Linked DNA regions of Homo sapiens: region 1 is linked to region 2. The links are contacts of gene promoters, found by promoter capture Hi-C in human tissues and cell types (Jung and others, 2019). All regions are on one chromosome and are shown on one strand. The core of a region is centred on a gene start or on the middle of the fragment in contact, and the rest is flanking DNA. Distances in the headings are between cores, read along the strand shown. Region 1 has its middle 44 kb from the start of EPC1-AS1. Region 2 holds the start of CCDC7 (coiled-coil domain containing 7).

Region 1 (7,510 bases), core at 4,943-7,442, 52 kb before region 2:
TGCATTTTCTAGTTTCACCATGTTGGCCAAGCTGGTCTTGAACTCCTGACCTCAAATGATCCTCCTGCCCTGGCCTCCCAAAGTGTTGGGGTTACAGGCTAGAGCCACCATGCCTGGCCACTTCAACTCTTTAACCATTGAAAAAAGCAGTATTTAATGTATCTGTGACCATTGAAAAAAGCAGTATTTAACGTATCTGTGATATAAATACATAGATTTATAACTAGTCAACCATTATCTAACATCAAATCAAGCTTTCAGCTTTTTCATATGGATAAAAATAACTACAGTCCAAATGACCTTTATTAATTTCTTGTGTATGATTCTCTTCTATTGTATTCATTTTTTTAACCAGATGGTAAAAGTAATATAAAAGTAATATACACTCATTACTGGCCATTCGGAAAATGTGTAGCAAAGAGTATCCCAACCACTTGTAGTCCTGTTTCTCTGGATCTCTTTACAGTGCCTTTTCCTGTACTTCTTTTTGTGTTGGCAAACTTTCAGAATAAAGGGTGCCAAGTCAGCAATCCCTATTATATAACTGAACAAGTATATATAATAGCACTCACAAAAATAACTCAGACAGGAGTGATTACATAATTAACATGATTGCACCTTACTTTGATAAAGGGCAGAGATTTTGCAAGAAGCATTAGAAAACTGTCTCCCCTCTATAATTCTAAATGTTTTATAAAATCATAGCACAAGTATAGGCTACTTAAAATGAGATGGTAAGATTGCTTTTTTGCTTTGGATCATTTACCAAGTGATATGGTTTGTCTGTGTCTCCACCCAAATCTCATCTTGAATTGTAGCTCCCACAATTTCCACGTGTTGTGGGAGGGACCTGGTGGGAGGTAATTGAATTGTGGGGGCGGGTCTTTCCTGTGCTGTTCTGTGATAGTGAATAAGTCTCATGAGATCTGATGGTTTTATAAGGGGGAGTTTCCCCACAAAAGCTTTCTCTTGTCTGCTGCCATGTAAGACGTGCCTTTCGCCTTCAGCCATGATTGTGAGACCTCCCCAGCCACGTGGAATTGTGAATCCATTAAACCTCTTTTTCTTTATAAATTACCCAGTTGTGGGTATGTCTATCAGCAGTGTGAAAGTGAACGAATACACCAAGATAATCTGAGTTGAATGAATAGTGTTATGGGGGGTGAATATTGAATTGGGGGTAATGCTGGAGCATGAAACACTTGGAAAACAGAGAAAGATAGCCAATGGGCAAAAACAAAGATGTGGGAATCCCAGGGAATGAGGGAGAAGAGGTATTGAAAGAGGAGAGGTGGAGCATAAAATAATATGGGATTGTGCTATAGATAGTGTGATCATACAACTTATAGTAAAATCTATGACATTTTCAAGAGTGAAAATGGCACGATTAATCATTGTACTGGCTGGGCACGATGGCTCACACCTGTAATCCCAGCACCCTGGGAGGCCGAGGCAGGCAGATCACTTAAGGTAAGGAGATTGAGGCTAGCCCGGCCAACATGGTGAAACCTCGTCTCTACTAAAAATACAAAAATTAGCCAGGCATGGTGGTGTGTGCCTACAGTCCCAGCTACTCGGGAGGCTGAGGCAGGAGAATCGCTTGAACCTGGGAGGCAGAGGTTACAGTGAGCTGAGATCACACCACTGCACTCCAGCCTGGGCAACAAGAACGAGACTCTGTCTCAAGAAAATAAATTAATAATAATTGTACTGAGATAACAGGTTAGAAAATCCGGAAAACACGCTCACTTGACATACATATGATTGCTTTAAATACAGGGAAAATCAGGAAATGTGGTCACTTTAGATACACTTAAAAAAAAAATAACAAAAAACAAACCTATTGCCCCAGTGGCAGCCATCCGTTTGCTACCTTTACCATGTACACGATCACCTCTTGACGTGACCACCCTTGATTTTTGACTTGCCATCATTGGCCTCATTGTTTCTCACTAGCAAAAGGAAATTCTAGTTGAACACTATTTATCTTCACTGGGAGTTTCTTAAAGAGATTACTTATCCAGGAGTTGGTATAAGATGTCCATGAGACCATGATCAGTTTCCAACATCCTGAGAGTGAGTTAGCCTCACTCTATTTTAGGGTCTAGGCTTCACTCTCAGCACTGCTTGTAAAGATCTATGTTAAGGGTGCTTTATTTTGAGGGAATTTTAAGCTAGAAGTTGACACACTGGACTCTGTCTTGGCCTCTCTGTTGCAATATATTCGGTGTCATCACAGAAGTCTTAAAATGTAACTTTCACTAACAGATGTCTTAAACTGTGTGCACTGTCAACTCAATTTTGCTGTGTCTGTTGTACATATTTGGAAAACCAATGCATCAAACCTCAATTTGCAAACCATAATTTGAGGGGGTATTTACAAGGAGACAGGCAGAATTATTTTCTTGTTTGAACCAATCCTGAAGCAGTGCTTCTGGGCCAGCTTTCACGCTGGGAAGTCCATGTAGGAGCTGAGCTGTTTGGTCAGAGCTGCAACTCTTTACGGTTTGGGACTCTGAGCTGAACATGATGCTGGGAATTTGCTGTTGGCAAAAGAACCCTTACAAAAAAGGCTTCTACCCTTCTGAGGCTTCCCAAGCCAGCATGTGGCACCCGGTATCATCAGAACAGATTTATTGTAGCCAAATCTCTCCTTACCATTCCTCTCCCCAGTAGTCAGTATCAAAATAGGACGCAGACCAGCTGAGCTCCCTGCTTCAGGATGCCTGGAAGAGCCCTAGGTACATGGTAGGAAGGGATGGAATCTCAGGAGAATACAGATGGTGCCTACAGACTTTTTGCTCTTACTGGAAAGAGGGGATGCTCCAGTGGTTCCTCTTTGGCAGAGTCTGGAATAGGGTTGCCCATCAAATTACAGAGATGCAGTTGGGTTGTCTGCCTTCTTGAGAGTACTCTGTGATGGGAGTTCTCAAACTAGAGACACTGATGTTTATGAACTCTCTGTGAGTAGTTTTTTTTTTTTTTTGACCGGGTCTTGCTCTATTGCCCAGGCTGGAGTACAGTGGCAGAATTATAGCTCACTGCAGTTTCAAACTTCTGGGCTCAAGCGATCCTCCCACTTCAGGCTTCCGAGTAGCTGGGACTACTATGTGCCAGCACATCAACCTAATTTTATTATGTTTTTGTAGAGACAGGGTTTCCCTATGTTGCCTAGACTGGTCTTAAACTCCTGGCTTCCAGAAATCCTCCTGCCTCGGCCTTTCAAAGTGCTGGGATTATAGGCATGAGCTACTGAACCTGGCCTTCTCTGTGAGAATTTTACATTTTCATTTCAACGTAACTTAAAAAACAATATGAGCAGACCCTGGATCATCTAGATAGCCTCTCTGTAGCCAAGTGTTATCCTGCAATTTTACTCTTGTGTTTGTGTTTGTAATTGAGTTAGAAGTGAGCCATTCTATTTTAATCAGAGAGCTACTGAGAAAAGAACGAAAGCTGACTTAATATGTAAATGATACATTTATACCAAGGGAAGGCTGCATATCACAACAAGCTGTATAAACAAATGGTTTCCAGTAATTTGAATGAAAAAAAGTGATGGGAAATTGTCATCTCACAGGACCTGTTAATAACCTGACCATAATGCTATCAAATTCATGCTACAACTGGTGATGAGAAAACAATATGGCATGTCACATAAAATTAATACCTTTCACTTATTAGTTTTCTTGCTAGGCTTATATTTAATTTATAGGTTGGCAGCTTTTATAGTTACAGAGGGCTATAAGCATATGTCATTTATACCTCATTGTATTTGTACACCAGGATGGTCTCAGGGGCCAGATTTCCTGGATATCAAACTTAGCACCACCACCTACTAGCTGAGTAAACTTGGGAATGCTACTTAACCTCCTTGTACCCAGATTTCTTCATTGCAATGAAAATATTTATAGTACCTACTATTATTGAGGGTAGTAATTGAATATATGTAAATTATTAGAACAGTGCCTGGGAATGCTGAGTATTCCTATAGTAAAAACGATTTAGCTCAGTAATTTATTTTATTTACTTATCTGGTTTTTTACTTTTTAATATTTGTGGATACACAGTAGGTGTGTATATTTATGGGGCACATGAGCTATTTTGATACAGGCATGCAATGCATAATTATCACATCATGGAAAATGAGATATCCATCCCCTCAAGCATTTATCCTTTGTACTACAACAATCCAATTATACTATTCTAGTTATTTTAAAATGTATAATTAAATTATTATTGATTATAGTCACCCTATTGTGCTATCAAATACTAGGTCTTATCCATTTATATATATATTTTTTGTACCCATTAACCATCCCCATCTATCCCCAACCTCCACTATCCTTCCCAGCCTCTGGTAACTATCCTTGTATTCTCCATCTCCATGAGTTCCATTGTTTTGATTTTTAGATGCCACAAATAAATGAAAATATACAATGTTTGTATTTCTGTTCCTGGCTTATTTCACTTAACATAATGACCTCAAATTCCATCCATGTTATTGTAAATGACAGGATCTCATGCTTTTTTATGGCTGAATAGTACTCCATTGTGTATATGTACCACATTTTCTTTATCCATTCATCTGTTGCTGGACACTTAGGTTGCTTCCAAATCTTGGCTATTGTGAACAGTGCTGCAACAAACATAGGAGTGCAGGTAACTCTTTGATAGATTGATTTCCTTTCTTTTGGGTATATACCCAGCAATGGGATTGCTGGATTGTATGGTACCTCTATTTTTAGTTTTTTGAGAAACCTCCAAACTGTTCTCCATAATGGCTGTACTAGTTTACATTCCCTTCAACAGTGTATAAACGTTCTTTTTTTAGCCCAGTAATTTAAATGAAGGTCCACACATATGGTAAGCCTGCTCTATTGGGTAAATTAAGGTATATGAAATAATCAGTAACACTTACATAGTACAACAATTTTATGAAATACTTTTTCATATATGTCATTCATGTAATTCTCTACATCTACCCTGAAAGGTAGATAATACTTTTCTTGTTTAAAAGCTTGGATAATTGAAGTGACATGCCCTGAAACAACACAGGTTTACCACCAGCATTTGGTGTTTTTTTTTTCTCCTCATGGAGAATGAATGAATATTTTGTAACTGAACATTTTCAAATTTCTTTTGGGTTGACAGGAACCCCACAACTAATTTTGTACTATAACACACATTAGTACTGTTGTAGGACTTATTGGTCTGAATATCTACATTATATTTTCTCTCCTGGTCTTAATTTTCTATTCTAATTTATATTTTCCCTGATTCTGAAATTTTCTGCATACTATTTTATTGTTTGGAATTTTAATAATCTGCTTCATGTACATTTTGGAAAATTGTGAGCCATAAATAAGTAGACTGACCCATAGTTACTTAACTAGTAAGGTCCAGATATTGACCTGAAGTCTTTTGGCTTTATAGGGAAGTCACATTTACCGAGCATTTAGCATGACTTGGTATTTTATATGCATTGTATCATGCAATACACACATTAGCTGGACTGAGGTAGGTTGGTTATTACTATCTTCCTCATATTCAGATGAAGAAATTAAAGCTTATAAAAGTTATAAGATTTTTTCCTAGGGTTAATAAATGTTATCTTAATTTTTGGCCCTCTAATTTATTCTTAAAAGTATCTGTCGGGCATGGTAGCTTACATCTGTTATCCCAGTACTTTGGGAGGCTGAGGCCGTTGAGCTTAGGAGTTCAAGACCAGCCTTGACAGCATAGGGATTCCCCATCTCTATTAAAATTACAAAAGTTAGCCAGGTGTGGTCATGCGCCTATAGTACCAGCTACTTGGGAGGCTGAGGCAGGAGGATTGCTTCAACTTGGGAAGTCGAGGTTGGAGTAAGCCAAGATGGAGTAATCTCAACTGCCCAGCACTTGAGCCTGGGCAACAGAGCGAGACCCTGTTTCAAAAAAAAAAAAATTCTTAAAAGCATGAGCTTTATTCTCTAAATTCAGCCCTGTTGTTAAGGCTTTAAGGCCAGATCTTTGTAAAAGACTCCATCCCTCGTTCCCAGCCCATCAAGTGGGCCTTTCCTCTTACGGCTTTGCCAAGAGCAAAAATTACTATTCTCCTCGATCCTGGCAAGCTTGTCTGTTTCTTTTTTTGAGCCAGTGTTATGGTTTTTACAGGATGTGAACACTGTTACTCAGATTTGCTTCTGTCCACACATTCCCTGGCCGTTCCAGGCCTGTGAAAGGAGTCCTTCTCCAATTGCTAGCCAGCAGAGAAGGCAGTGACCCCAGTTATAGGCTGGATTAAAGCAGAGCAGGAAATCAGGCTTTGGCTCTTGCCCTTATGATCTCCTATGTCATAAGGTGGCAAAGGATGTACCATTAAGTACCACCCAGCGACTAGAATAATGGATTCTTGAGTCTCCATTCCTCTGCCATCATTTTACACCAGACTTTACAGTGTTTCCCAATTAGTGATGCTTCCCAGACTTAATCATTTGATCATCGCAATTTTTGCCATATCCTATCACTCTTACTTGTATTTACTTAAATCTTCTTTAAATTAGTGACATCCTAGCTTAAATATATTACTTTCAAGGGTTACTTTATATTACTACCATTAATGGGAGGACAATATCACTATTTGTGTGTCATCCTTGTGCAGGGGCCATGCTAATCTTCTCTGTAGCATTCCAATTTTAGTATTTCTGTTGCCAAAGTGAGCACGACAGTATCACTATTAATGGAAGATAATCTTAAAATGAAATATAGTGGCAAAACAATAACTATTAAATTATTTTCCAAAAACAGGTATTGGAAATTAGGAAGCCTGTAGTTTACTTCTAACAATTACATAAACTATTGCATAAACTGTAGAATAGTATGAAAGCAATATAATTTTCTGTGCCATAATTTCCCCCATTTTAAAATGGTTTTATTTTTAATTTTTTTTTTTTCTGTCTCCCAGGCTGGAGTGCAGTCCATGATCTCAGCTCACTGCAACCTCTGCCTCCCTGGTTCCAGGGATTCTTGTGCCTCAGCCTCCTGAGTAGCTTGGGCCTACAGGTGCCACCACCATGCCTGGATGATTTTTCTATTTTTACTAGAGACGGGGTTTCACCATATTGGCCAAGCTGGTCTCGAACTCCCGATCTCAAGTGACCCACCAACCTTGGCCTCCCAATGTGCTGGGATTACAGGCATGAGTCACTATGCCCCGCCCTTAAAATGGTTTTAAACTGTTTACTATGTTCATTACGGTCCATTATCTGCGAGGAAAAGAGAGATTTCCATGCCAATTGCAGGAAGTAACTGGAAAGTATAGGGCATTAGATTGTGGCATGAAGGAGGTAATAGAGGTTAGAAACTACCAATAAAGAAAATGAGTGGTATGATACAGAGCTGAGAGCAGAATGTATCAAGTTTGACAAAATTTCTCCTCTTGGATATGACTAGAAAGTTTGGTGAGCCCTACTTGCAGATTTTTAGTCTTAAGATGGGTGAAGAAAAACAAAAAACATGGTAAGATCTT
Region 2 (7,400 bases), core at 4,030-6,529:
CTGTAGGATTTAGTAGCAGCCATATTATTCAAACTGTCTAGTCAATCAAGCAATAAGTGATCCTCCCCTCTTTCATTCTCTGCTACCAAGGAGGAACTAGGGAGATGGCTGCAGGCTGAGTACTGGAAAATAGGTTCATTGAGGTGGGGGCAGGAGGGTCGATCTGATGGTCAGTGTCACTCCCATCCCATTGTAACAACGAGAACTAAGATCCATTCTGGGTTAGAGTAAGGTTCTGATCCTTTTCAGAAAATAGTTACGGAGATATGCACCTCTAAATGCAAAAGGAGAGGATTTGGGACTGCTATGGACAGAAATTTTGCAAATCTTAAGAACTTTGGCTTGTTAGCTTGGGAGATGAGGGAGAGAGGTGCACAATGTTTGTTAAGGAGGAATGGCAACAGCAATGGCAACCTCTTATAGCTCAACTCCTCCTGAATTCTATCAGGCCAATATTAGATCTTTTTGAAGATGACAGTACGAGTTTTCTTGGAGTAGGCGCTGGCTGCTGTAAGTGTACCTGGCCCTCTCAGTAAGAGATTCCTGAGACAGAGAACCTGCCACGGGAAACCAGAGATGAAGCAATGTCTAGTATTCAGGCCCTTACTATCCTGCTTTGGGTTGATACTCTCCACCTAGTCCCCTGACACTGACCCATAAAAGCCACAAGTGAGGGACATAATGGGTTTTTATATGTTTTATAAAAATTCCCTTGTCACTCTTGCTCTTGACTGACTGTTCCAGATGAAAATTTTAGGTGAGATTAGAAGCATGATTGGAAAGAGGTTATAGTTACTAGAATGGGACACATTAATTTTGTGGCAGTGTTAGAGAGAGAGAGACAGAGAGAGAGAGACTGAGACCTAAGCACTTGGAAAGGCACTGGGGGATAAAGGGACATTAGTATTAATATTCTTTTGTCTTTTAGAACTGATCCTGGAGCTTTCCCTCACAAAGGAAAATGCCCTGCTGCAGCTTTTGCAAACTGTTTCAAGTCCTTGAATTTAACTGATTCCTGGGTCTGTTATCCTCTGTTAGATGGCTTTGACCACAATTTGATTACTATTCTCTTATTCTTTCTGAGAAGTCTATTAGAAACAGCAGTGAATGGTCTCAGCTTCTTCATTTTCCATGCAAAAACTTGTCAACAGCTTGTATGTATTGCCTGTAGATAGTCCCATAGCTGTCACTTAGGTATTTTGTGGTGGTGGATGAAACAGGATAGGAAAGATTGGACTGACTTCCATCATGTGGTACCTACAAAAACAAGGATGCTCAATTATTCAAACTGAACTGGGAATCCTAAGGTGTATTGTTGATTGGGAGGCCATGTTGGAGGCATGGTCAACCTGTGCCTCATGAGTAATATGAGTGCCATTTTGGTGGAGGTAGGGGGAAAGGGGATACCCAATAAATGCAAACAAGACTTTATTTCCAGGGCACTCAATGCTCCCTGACTATACTTCTTGTAATGTATACCTCCAATTTTGTTTTTCTTTTAAAAAGTCATTCTGGCTATTGCAGATCCTTCCTATTTCCAAATGAACTTTAGCGTCAGGTTGCAAATTGCTTCACAAAAGCCTGATGGTAGTTTCAATGGAATTGCATTGGATTTATAGATCAATTTGGGGAGAACTGACATCCTAACATTATTAAATCTTCTGATTCATGAACACAGTGTATCTTCATTTATTTAGGTCTTTTTATTTTCTCTCAGCAATTTTTTGTAGTTATCACTGTAACTTTTTATCTTATTGAGTGCTGGAAGGTTTTGTATGCCTATAAATATTCTTGAGCTGTGTTTTGGGTCTCAGCTAAGTTACTGGAAACATTCAATCCTTTCAGATCTTACTTTTAAGCTTTGTTTGACAGGTCCAGAGGAGTGTTTAGTGTAAGACTGTTTTTGAACCCTTCCTGAGGCAAAACCCTTTTGAGCACTTTACTCACTGCCCCTTAAATTATAAAACTTTTGACTCTAGCTGGTGGTAACATGAAATATTCTGAGCACTGAGTATCATATCCTATCATGGCACTGAGTGTCATATCCTATCATGCTTCCACGTGGTTCTTTCCCTGGCCATGGATAGTTTTCATACATGTATACAGTGATCATTACCCAGTTGAAGACTAAAGGGGTCCCCTGAAGATTTATGGAGCTCTCTTTGTTCTTTAATTTCTTCTCTCGGATTCTCTCCTTTGAACTCTAGCTTCCTTGGCCTTCCTGGACACCTCCTTCCCTCAACTCAGAGACCGCTAGAAGCTGCCTGGGTTTTCTGTTCTTTGTATCATGACTTGGAACCACCTGTCTTCAGGGAGTAAGCTTAGGAAATAATAGGGATCATCTTAAATTTGTTTCCTGTTATGCAGGGGTCATTATCATTATCTGATAACCGAGGTATAAAAATTCATTGTTTCATATATTTTGTCTGATTCTTTACTTATTCCAGACAGGAGGATAAACCCAGTTGCTGTTACTCCATCTTGGCTGGAAGCAGAACCCTTCACATAAACCCAGTTGCTGTTACTCCATCTTGGCTGGAAGCAGAACCCTTCACATTATCCCTTGAAGGATAATATGTATGGTATGTGTCCATGGCACAAAGTCTATGATTTAATTTAAATTAACTTTCAGGTATGGCACGAGGCAGGGGTCATGGATAATTTTTTTTCTCTCAATGATATCAGCTTTCATTTTCATTGTTGGAAAGATTTTTCTTTCCCCATTGAAGTGCACTGGCACTGTTTAAAATCAATTGACTTTATATATGTGGATATATTTCTTAACCCTCTATTTGTTCCATTTTTGTCTAACTTCGTGTAATATACTATTTTACTATAACTTTATAACTCTTGAAAACCTGTAGTATATGTCATTTAAATATTTGCTTATTTTTTTCAAGATTGTTTTGGCTCTAGCCTTTTTCATTTCCATATAAATTGCAAAATTATTTTCCCAATTTCTAGAAAATAATCTTCTTGGATTTTGATCATAAACGCATTTAATGTGTAGATAAATATTGATAGACATAGACTTAAAAAGTTGACATTTTAGCAATATTGGGTCTTCTAATCCATTAATATGGTACATAATCTCCATTAATTTGGATCTTCTTTAATTTCTCTCAGTAATGTTATATAGTTTTCATTGTAGATGTCTGGAAATTGTATGTTGTCTGGGAATACAGCTTTATTTCTTTCATTGAAATCATTATGCCTTTATTTCTTTTTCTTGCCTTATTGCACTTGTTAAGACCTCCAGTATAATACTGAATAGACATAGTGAGAGCAAATATCCTTGCCTCCTTCCAATCTTAAGGAAAAATCAATTTTTCACTATTGAAAATGATGTTAGCTGGAGATAGTTCACAGATGTCCTTCATCAGATGAAAAAGTTCCTCTCTATTCATAAGTATTGTTTGTTTTCAAAGAATAATCGATTCATGTCACAGACTCAAACCACTGCAAAATTTGATATTACATGCTTAAATTTATTAACTTTTTAAACTTCTTTGCTTTACATTGTCAGCACTGATAACTTTTCTGTGGTTCTTAGCTGTGCTATTAAGGCCACAGATATGAATGGTGAACTTTTGGCTAGACTCATGCTGAGAGTTTTGCTAATGTATGCTAACTTGACAACTTGACCGTTAAGATTTTACCAACAAAATTAGAAATGACTAGATGTAATCTATTTTCAGGGTTCTAGAAAATAACTGAAATTGGCTTTGTCAAATCTAAGGTCTTCTTTAATCTCTCCTGACTTTTAGTTCTATCTTTCCTATCCCTTTCATTTACAACGGTTTTGGGAGATTTGGAATTTAGCAATTCAATTCTTTCTAAACTACTTTCTTAATTTTATTGCCAACTTTAAAAAATAAAAAATTGTTGGTGGAAAGCTTAATAAATCTGATCATTTATATGTACATTTTCTTTGTTACTGACATAAAACACACATACTGAAAAGTGCATAAATAAGCATATGCCTTCATGTTTTTTTTTTTTTTTCTTTTTTAGATGGAGTCTCGCTCTGTTGCCCAGGCTGGAGCGCAATGGCACAATCTCGGCTCACTGCAACCTCCACCTCCTGGGTTCAAGTGATTCTCCTGCCTCAGCCTCCTAAGTAGCTGGGATTACAGGCACCCGCCATCACGCCCGGCTAATTTTTGTATTTTTAGTAGAGATGGGGTTTCACCATGTTGGCCAGGCTAGTCTCGAACTCCTGACCTCGAGTGATGCACTGCCTCAGGCTCCCAAAGTGCTGGGATTACAGGTGCGAGCCACCACGCCCAGCCTGCCTTCATGAATTTTTGAACACACCCAGAAAGAGCAGAAGACAGAACATTTCTGGTACACCAGAAGATGTGTTGTTTTCCCTTTCCAGGCAACCCCAATGGTAACTCCTAGTGGTGTGATGGAGCTAGCCTACACCAGCTCTTGGGAGCTGATAAATTTTCAGGAATCTCTTGTGAGGCATTCAGATTTTACTGGAAAATTAGAAATAATTAGATATAATGAATTTTCAGAGTTTTAGAAAATAGTTGAAATCTACTAAGTCAAATCTAAGGTCTCCTTTAAACCTCCTGGTTTTTAGTTTTAGTTCCATCTTTCCTATTCCTTTCATTTACACACAGGCATTATTAACAGTTAAATTGTATCAATTAATATTTTAAAATATTAAAAACATTTTACTTCGTTCAACTTAAAGACAAAATTAATATATTTCTTGAGGTCAAATTATCTAAAAAACTCTACCTTGTAAAATTGCATCTTAAAGCAGTGCGTGGAAACTGATGGCAAGAAACCACTTAAGTGTCACAACTCTGCTTCAAGTTAATTCCTAGTCCATTTGATTTTGTTTTGCTTTTAAGATCACGAAGCTGGTGTACACTTCCGTGCGAGCTTAGAGTGGTAATGAACTCCACAATACACTGAAAAGAGCTTGAGGAGACAGCAGATGAAGGACTGGGGCTCTGGTTTTGTAGCTGAAGCCCAGGTTCTCAAAGGTCCTACCAGGCCTGTACTTTATTTCTCCTCCGCGGGCCTCTAGGCCAAATGCCTGGATGAATCTGCGCTCAGGGGGCGTCCTGGAATTACACTTGGGAGAGAATAAGAAAGGAGGAGGCCGATGTGCCCATGGACATTATTAACCTTCCGGCAAATCCCCACAGCCGCCAAACTGCGTCTCCTCTTCCGCTCTCGGCGCGCAGCTCACGCTCGCAGCGTCAGCGACGCCGGCGGCGCCAAGGCGTCGTGGCGTCGGGCGCCTGGGACGTGGCTTCAACGGCCCCATCCGGCGCCGGCGGCGGGTGCCCGGCGGTCTTTGCTGCCGCCCGGGGGCGCAGAGGCCGGGCCTTTTCTTTCAGCACAAACGTCAGTTTGTAAAAGGGAGGTGCTGGAGTCTGAGGAGTTTTCAGGCTTCCGTCTCGAAGGAAGTCTGGCAGGCTCGGAATTGTCATCTTCCTCAGGCAAATAGTTTTTCACCTTAGAGCCAGCAAGGCCAAACCGCCCAGTCACCCGACTTCCCACAGTCTCAGCAGGTACACAGGGCGGGGAGCCTCGGGAGCGGCTCCCTTAGCAGGACCTGAGGGTTTCGGGAGAGTCCTGGCTTTGCACTTAGTTTTCCCGCTGCCTGGCTGCCTCCGTGGCGGTTGTGCTGCTTTTTATGCAGGATGTAGGATCGAAGGCAAATCATCCTTTCCCTACGTCCCCTGCCAACCCCTGCCGCTCTCCTCTATTTTGTACACTTTATCATTAAAGGATTTGAAATGAATGTAAGTTAATCCTTGAAGGATGAAACCAGAAAACATTTGTCGTGGTGGCGGAAAGGGACGGATGCACTTGGGCGAAGTAATGCTGACATCCACTTCCTAGCATTGTTAGGAGGGATAAATGAATTAAATATGTAAAGTCCTTAAATATTTGCTTGCTAATACGAGTATTCATTGCGTGTGACTATTTTTGTATTTATGTGAACTTCATCGGAGCATTTGTCAGGTTCTTTTTTTTTGCACCAAGTGAGCGTTGCCTGCCTGCCTGCCTGCCTGCCTCCCTCCCTCCCTCCCTTCCTTCCTTCCCCTCTTCCCTTCCTCCCTCCCTCCCTCCCTCCCTCCCTCCCTCACACTTTTTTGGGGAGAGAGGACACAATGCAATCCATAACAGCATATACACTTGTTCTTTTTTCCATCGAACTTTCCTCTTGACCATGTTTTCTTCTAGTAATACTGTATTTCTTTACTCCCTTTTATAGTAAAATTTCTCTACAGTGCTTATATTCAATTCATTGTTCCTACTTCCTCTCTTTTGAACGGTAAGTCAGATATTTACCTCGATCATTCTACTGAAATTGTTGCCGTTCTTCAGGTTACAAATGACCTACCTCCATGTTGCCAAATCCAGTGTCAGCTTAGTCTTCATTTTACTTGACTCAGCATTTGACGTAGTTCATCACTCGGTCCTTGGTGATATTTTCTTTTCCTTGCTTTCTATGTATATATAACCTTTTGGTTTTACTTATTGGCTCATTGGCCACTCTTCTTACGTCCTGTTTCCTGGTCCTGATGGTTTTGATGGAATTTTTGATGTTTGCTTGGACCTGAAGGTTTTGATGGAGTTTCTTTGGCAATGTAATTTATTCAGAATTCTTTTGAGGCTTTTCAATTTTGTAAATTTAATCTTGGTTTCTGCATCATTTTGCTTGTATCATTAATTTTTACTGAAAGCATCGTGTCACAATCGGCATGAGAAAAATGTAAAAGGGAGCAGGGCGCACAGTGGCTCAGGCGTGTAATCCCAGCACTTTGGGAGGCTGAGGTGGGAGGATCACCTGAGGTCAGAAGTTCGAGACCAGCTTGGCCAACGTGGTGAAACCCTGTCACTATTAAAAATACAAAAATTAGCCGGACGTGGCAGTGGGCACCTGTAATCCCAGCTACTTGGGAGGCTGAGGCAGGAGAATCGCTTGAACCTGGGAGGCAAAGTTTGCAGTGAGCAAGATTGTGCCATTGTACTCCAGCCTGGGCGACAAGAGCGAAACTCTGTCTCAAAAAAACGAAAAATGTAAAAGGGAATATTTTGCAGGGGCTTTGGTTCAAGTTCTATAATGTGTTTATTTACTATTATCATCAGTAATTTCCAAGAGAGCATTGTGTTCTTCCTTCAAATGGATTTTTAGTGACAAGTTATTTTTGCAAAGTCATATTTGATTATGATTTAAAAATTATGCTTGGCAACTATGCATTCAGTTAACTATAGTGTTAACTATAGTGTTTCATCGAAACAAAAAAGCAGTTGTATAATTCTTGGATGAAATAAACATTTTCAGTGCTATTAAGATATTTTCGTTCTATTGTTCACAACCTAGTTTAGAATTTTTATTTTTGAGAATTTTCTGTTTGTGCTTG

What was found. The method cuts DNA at HindIII sites, captures the fragments that hold promoters and counts their contacts. A contact is called where the count stands out against the background at its distance.
Region 1: a fragment that was not itself captured here is called in contact with the fragment with the promoter of CCDC7 in region 2 in 2 of the 25 tissues and cell types used here (adrenal gland and heart left ventricle).

The regions. Positions count from the first base shown.
Region 1 is chr10:32,387,961-32,395,470 of GRCh38, forward strand. It overlaps the pseudogene RNU6-1244P. Among named protein-coding and RNA genes, the nearest start is that of EPC1-AS1, 44 kb to the left of the region's middle. The HindIII fragment of the contact is 6,402 bases long and covers 2,992-7,510 here.
Region 2 is chr10:32,440,861-32,448,260 of GRCh38, forward strand. It overlaps CCDC7 (coiled-coil domain containing 7), which reads left to right and starts at 5,280. Exons shown (of 44, transcript NM_001395015.1): 1 at 5,280-5,537. It overlaps LOC101929431 (a long non-coding RNA gene), which reads right to left and starts at 5,196. Exons shown (of 3, transcript NR_120660.1): 1 at 4,753-5,196; 2 at 1-1,257. RefSeq lists an enhancer at 4,831-5,150 and a silencer at 5,221-5,450. The HindIII fragment of the contact is 7,178 bases long and covers 3,109-7,400 here.